Regions from separate parts of the Homo sapiens genome. Here region 1 is linked to region 2. Evidence: promoter capture Hi-C in human tissues and cell types (Jung and others, 2019). All regions are on one chromosome and are shown on one strand. Each heading gives the region's core, a stretch centred on a gene start or on the middle of the fragment in contact. The rest is flanking DNA. Distances are from core to core; before and after follow the strand shown. Region 1 has its middle 42 kb from the start of DMRTB1. Region 2 holds the start of LRP8 (LDL receptor related protein 8).

Region 1 (2,700 bases), core at 98-2,597, 90 kb before region 2:
CTACGTTTGATCAGTTTTGTTACTATTTATAGCAGCCACTTACTGTGCCAGATATTGTGCTAAGTACTTTATATACAATGTATGGTTTATTACAACCATCTTATGAAGTTGGTATTTGTATAAGTTAGGGGGTGTGTGTGTGTGTGTGTGTGTGGCTGTAAGCAACAGAAAACCCAATACTCAACAGGTTAAACCATAAAGACATTCATTCTTAACAAGAAACCTGGAGATGGATAGACCAAGTTTGGTTCAATAGATCAGCGTTGTCCCCAGGGACCCGGGCTCTTTCAGGCCTTTGGCTCTGCTGTCTTTAGTGTGTCCGTGATGTTTCTTCTCGTGTTCATAAGACAACTGCCGCAGCACCAGACATCATGTCTCAACGGCGGCATCCAGAGTGGGAAGCAAGGGGGCAAAGGCAAACGGGCTTTCTTTTTTTCTTTCTTTCTTTCTTTTTTTTTTTTAGATGGAGTCTCGCTCTGTTGCCCAGGCTGGAGTGCAGTGGTGTGATCTTGGCTCACTGCAACCTCCCTTCTGAGGTCCAAGCCATTCTCCTGCCTCAGCCTCCCACCACAGGTGCGCACCACCTGTGATTGCAGGTGTGCACCACTACACCCAGCTAATTTTTGTATTTTTAGTAGAGATGGGGTTTCACCATGCTGGCCAGGGTGGTCTCGAACTCCTAACCTCAAGTGATCCATCCGCCTAGGTCTCCCAAAGTGCTGGGATTTCAGGCATGAACCACTGCACCCGGCCCAAATGGGCTTTCTCTTCATGTATCTCTCTTATCAGAGAGGAAAATCTTTCTCAGAAGCTTCTAGCATATTTCCCCTTCAGTCTCATTGCGTGGAATTTGATGACAAGCCTTCCCATAGGTGCTGAACAAAACTAAGATCTGTTGTCACTCATTGAAGGAGATGGAAATGGCTATTAGGTAGGCAACCAGGGTCTGTCTTGCATTATTTTCCCTATTTTACAGGTGAGGAAACTGAGGCTTAGAGAGATTAGTAAGGTCAAACTGGAAGGACAAAACCAAGATTTAAAACAGATCCGTCTGCCTCCAAAGCAGTTTGCTGTCACATTACTTGCTTTAGCCTGGAACTTGCTATAAGGCAGAGTTACTATTAATCACATCAAAAGGAATTTATTACTGAAAGTGTCAGAAAAACTGCTTTTTAACAGTGATTAATACATAATTAGGTCTCAAAGCTAGGAGTCTTTGGACAATGATGGATTCATGAATAACAGGAAACTAGGTGAGAAAAAACACAAAGACAAAGAAGTATCTTAAAAGAAAGTAAATGTTTATAATCTTTTTTGGCAGGCATCTGCAGTCTTTTAATTCTGCCCTTTCTGCCCCCGCTCCCCGCACTTGACTTTCCAGAAATGGCCAATTTCTTTCAAATGCTGTATACTGGAAAAATCCAAAGGACTCATCAGATGAACACATTTCAAAGAGCCACTACCAATTTTTTTTCTTAAGCAAAGCATCAAGCCTCTGATTTGCCGCTGATAAATTCTCTGTAAGTAGCATTATAATTAAGCACACACAAACCATTCTGTGTTTCCAAGAATACAATTGGGCTGGCACTGAATCGGTGATAGCGTGCAGGCACCGGGTGGGAGGGGTCCATTGCATCTCAACTACCATGTACCGTCTTTGTGCCGAGACCAATCCGTCTCTCTCCTTGACACCCTCTGAATCACAGGCCATTGCCCATTCACCCCATGTCTGTCACGGAGCTCTTTTATGGGGCACCTTCACTGAGCCTTGAGACTGTGGCCGTCCTGCTTCTAGGCTCTGGTCAGAGAAAATGCCAGGAAAGCAAAGTGCAACATGACTTCCTCTCTCAGCATGACTTCCTCCCACCTCCTACCAGGCTGGTGGAAAAAAAACCAATGGTGTGAAAGCAAAACTGGGAAAAGAGAGAGGCAGCTCGGGGTGGGGGTGGCAGGGGTGGCAGGAAAGGGCTGAGCGGTCAGTCAGGCTTCCAAACCTGGTTTCACTGCCCTGGCTTACAAGGCTTTGACAAGGTACCTTACCCTGACATGCCTCAGTTTCCTCCTATGTAAATGGGGAACCACAACACCAACCTTGAAGACTAATTGTGAGAATAAGCAATAATTTATGTAAAACACATGGGATATCATAAATGCTCAATATATTATAGCACTTATTATTACCAGCCTCTTAGTAAAAAGTTGACAGTCTGTTAGCACGAAACATTTAGCATGTGTTATTGTTGTGGTTGTTCTTGGATATCTACAGGATATAGTTGCTTTAAGTTTTAATGCATCAAAAAAATCCATAACCCATTTTTGGAAATTCAGCACACAGGAAAGTGAAAAGTAAGTAGCCTGGGAGTGTTGTGTGTATAGAAGTCAACAGTGGCAACCCTATCTCCCCCTGGCTTCTATGCAAACAGTTTCTTTTACAAATGTGTTTTTGGTATGCAAATCACTCTATGCAGATTTCTGTGTGTGCAAAATACAGCATAGAAAAATGGCCTTCTTGCCAAGGAAGACAGGAGATGTTGGCTGCCGTCAAATGAAATAGCAGCAAATTTTAGATTTCTTTTCCTACTGCTCTTTCTAACAATGTATGGGGTGAGCATATTTTTGGCACGTTATACTCAACTATTTTGGCTTTAGATTGTGTGTTCTTGTGATAAAAGTGTGGTTATTGAAGCATGTAACTACTTT
Region 2 (2,700 bases), core at 201-2,700:
GCACATATAGGTGAAAGGACGCCTGCATTTCGTTGTCTGTGTGCTAATGGTCTGTCTCCCCACAGGTCAGGGACCTCTCCGGGGCTGGCACCATGCCTGATTCACCTTGGTACCCGCAGGCCCAGCACAGGGTTGGCACAGAACAGGGCCTGAAATGCTTGCTGAATGACTGAATGAACAAGGGACAGGAGGGGTGATGATGGCAGGAGCACCGTGCCGGGCTCTCTGGGGATCTAAGTCCCTTTCTGGTGGGGTGGCCACAGATATTGCCGCTGGGCTGCCCTTTGGGGGACTACGGCTCAGGAGGCTGCTGAGGAGACAGGGTGGTTTCCAGGCCAAGGGCTAACAGCACCTGCCCATCCGCGAGGGAGGTGAAGGGGCAAGAGGGGAGGGAGGGTGGACCTAACACTGGCTCTTGGCACCTGCAGGCCGGTTGTTTTGAGTGGCCAATGCCCTGGAATCTCATTCTCTAAAGAAGGTTGTGTGGGTTGGACCCGGCTCACAAGTCTGAGGCTGAAATCGAATCCCAGCTCGCTCTCCGCACCCATTCTCCCCAGTGTGGGTGAGGCGGGCTGCAGCCCTCCAGAGGAAGAGGTGCCTTCTCCTTCCTGCAGAAGACAGCAGGGGCGGACAGCGCGGGCCTAGGTGCGCGGCCCCTAGCGGCAGGGATGGCATCCCTTCCGTGCCCTCCCCTTCCCCCCCGCCCGGCCCGCCCCACAGACCTCGTCTTTCTCCATCACAGCGAGGATTCCTTGTCTTCCCTGCGGGCCCCCCCTGGTTGCCCCTCTGACTAGGGGCCTGGAGCGTACTTAACGACGATGAATAGTCTGTGCACCAGGCCCAATCCACCTGCCTCACGTCCCCATGATCACATGAGCGTGCAACATGCACAGATGCACATGGCACGGAAACCAAACCAGCCACAGGGATTTATAATATCCCAGCCGGAGCCCATGACAGGTGCAGGGGTCCAGCCCTGCGCCCCCAGCTTCTCCCTGCTCATCCACATCTTGGGATCTCACCCCTATCCCTCCCTCCCCCGCCCCACGCGCACACTGCACAGGCCTGTTCGTCCTGTAACATCATTTCCCCTCCCGCCCAGGCTCACTCCTAGACATCCCTCAGCCTCTGATCCGCCTGTCACCTCCTCCAGGAAGCCTCTGCTGCTTCCTCTGGACCTGCTACCTCCGTGGTGAGGGGCTCGCCTGGCCCATCCCTGCGTCTGCAGAGCCCAGCACTCAGGCGAGCCCAGAGCAGGGCCGTGGAGCGCCCGCTGAGAGAAGAGTGGACGAAAGACAGGAGGGAGGAGGGCGAGGAGGCGGCGGCAGGGGGAGCGTGGGGCGGAGGCGGCAGCGGGAGGGAGCGCGCGCGCTGGCGGCGGCCGCCCAGGGCCGGGGCCGCGCGCCCAGCCTGAGCCCGCCCCGCCGCCGAGCGTCACCGAACCTGCTTGAAATGCAGCCGAGGAGCCGGGGCGGGCGGCAGCGGCGGCGGCGGCGGCGGCGGGGGCAGCGGCAACCCCGGCGCCGCGGCAAGGACTCGGAGGGCTGAGACGCGGCGGCGGCGGCGCGGGGAGCGCGGGGCGCGGCGGCCGGAGCCCCGGGCCCGCCATGGGCCTCCCCGAGCCGGGCCCTCTCCGGCTTCTGGCGCTGCTGCTGCTGCTGCTGCTGCTGCTGCTGCTGCAGCTCCAGCATCTTGCGGCGGCAGCGGCTGATCCGCTGCTCGGCGGCCAAGGTGCGTGCAGCCGGTCTCTGACTCGGCTCTGCTCCGCCCTAGCCACCAACAAAGCGCGGCCGGGAGGCCGGAGCGGGGAGGGGTCCAGAACCCGGGGCTATCGGGGGCTCCCGGGCGGACAGGCTCCACGCGAAGCGGCTATTCCTGAATTTGCCCTCGGCCCCCCGCCCCCGCGGGCCTCGGTGTTGAGGGCTCTGCCCTCTGGGCAGCGGATCTTGGGGGAGGGGTGCAGGGGGGCTTGGCCAGCGGGGAACTTTGCCGGAGGGGCGGCCATTCATGGTTCCGGATGAGCTGTGTGATTCTCGCCGTTGGGGTTTATTTGACACGCGCGCTCCGCGGCGGTAATGAGCAGAGCCGGGCGGCTTCTCCGCTTGACAATGCGTTTCCGCAGACCCCTGCGCGCGGCGGAGAGAGAGGGGGCTGCCTGCCAGGGTGATGTGCCTGCGGCTCCCACTGCGCCTGGCGCGCGGGCGCGGGGACTCCCTATGGGCTGTATCTGAGCAGATCTCTGACTATGGGTCGCGTGTGCGGGTGAGTGCGTCTGAATGGAGGGTATACCCAGGTCGTGTGACACTTTAAGTAGGTGCCTGGTCTCGCCGTGCCACCGAGCGGCCCGACATCCACGGAACCCCTGCCATCGTGCCCTCCCTTTGGATGGAGTGTGCCTGAAGCCCCCGGGGTCTCCATAATCGCCCCCTTTCCTCCTCCCCAGCGGGTCCTTCCGGGTGGCCCGGACTGCATGGTGGGGAGTGGGGCCGAGTCCGCTGATCCAGCTCACGCTCCCTCCCCCTCGCAGGGCCGGCCAAGGATTGCGAAAAGGACCAATTCCAGTGCCGGAACGAGCGCTGCATCCCCTCTGTGTGGAGATGCGACGAGGACGATGACTGCTTAGACCACAGCGACGAGGACGACTGCCGTGAGTGGCGGGCCAGGGAGCTCAGACCCGGGGAGAGAAAAGGAACGGTGGGG

What was found. Contacts are between HindIII fragments. The study calls those that stand out against the background at their distance.
Region 1: a fragment that was not itself captured here is called in contact with the fragment with the promoter of LRP8 in region 2 in 2 of the 25 tissues and cell types used here (mesendoderm cells and thymus).

What each region holds. Positions count from the first base shown.
Region 1 is chr1:53,416,348-53,419,047 of GRCh38, reverse strand. No RefSeq gene overlaps it. Among named protein-coding and RNA genes, the nearest start is that of DMRTB1, 42 kb to the left of the region's middle. The HindIII fragment of the contact is 3,198 bases long and covers 1-2,700 here.
Region 2 is chr1:53,326,820-53,329,519 of GRCh38, reverse strand. It overlaps LRP8 (LDL receptor related protein 8), which reads left to right and starts at 1,450. Exons shown (of 19, transcript NM_004631.5): 1 at 1,450-1,731; 2 at 2,528-2,647. The coding sequence starts at 1,608. LRP8-DT (LRP8 divergent transcript) reads right to left here and starts at 1,287. Exons shown (of 3, transcript NR_131923.1): 1 at 1,145-1,287. RefSeq lists enhancers at 1,014-1,243, 2,294-2,403 and silencers at 1,314-1,513, 1,584-1,733, 1,784-1,953, 2,469-2,700. The HindIII fragment of the contact is 17,458 bases long and covers 1-2,700 here.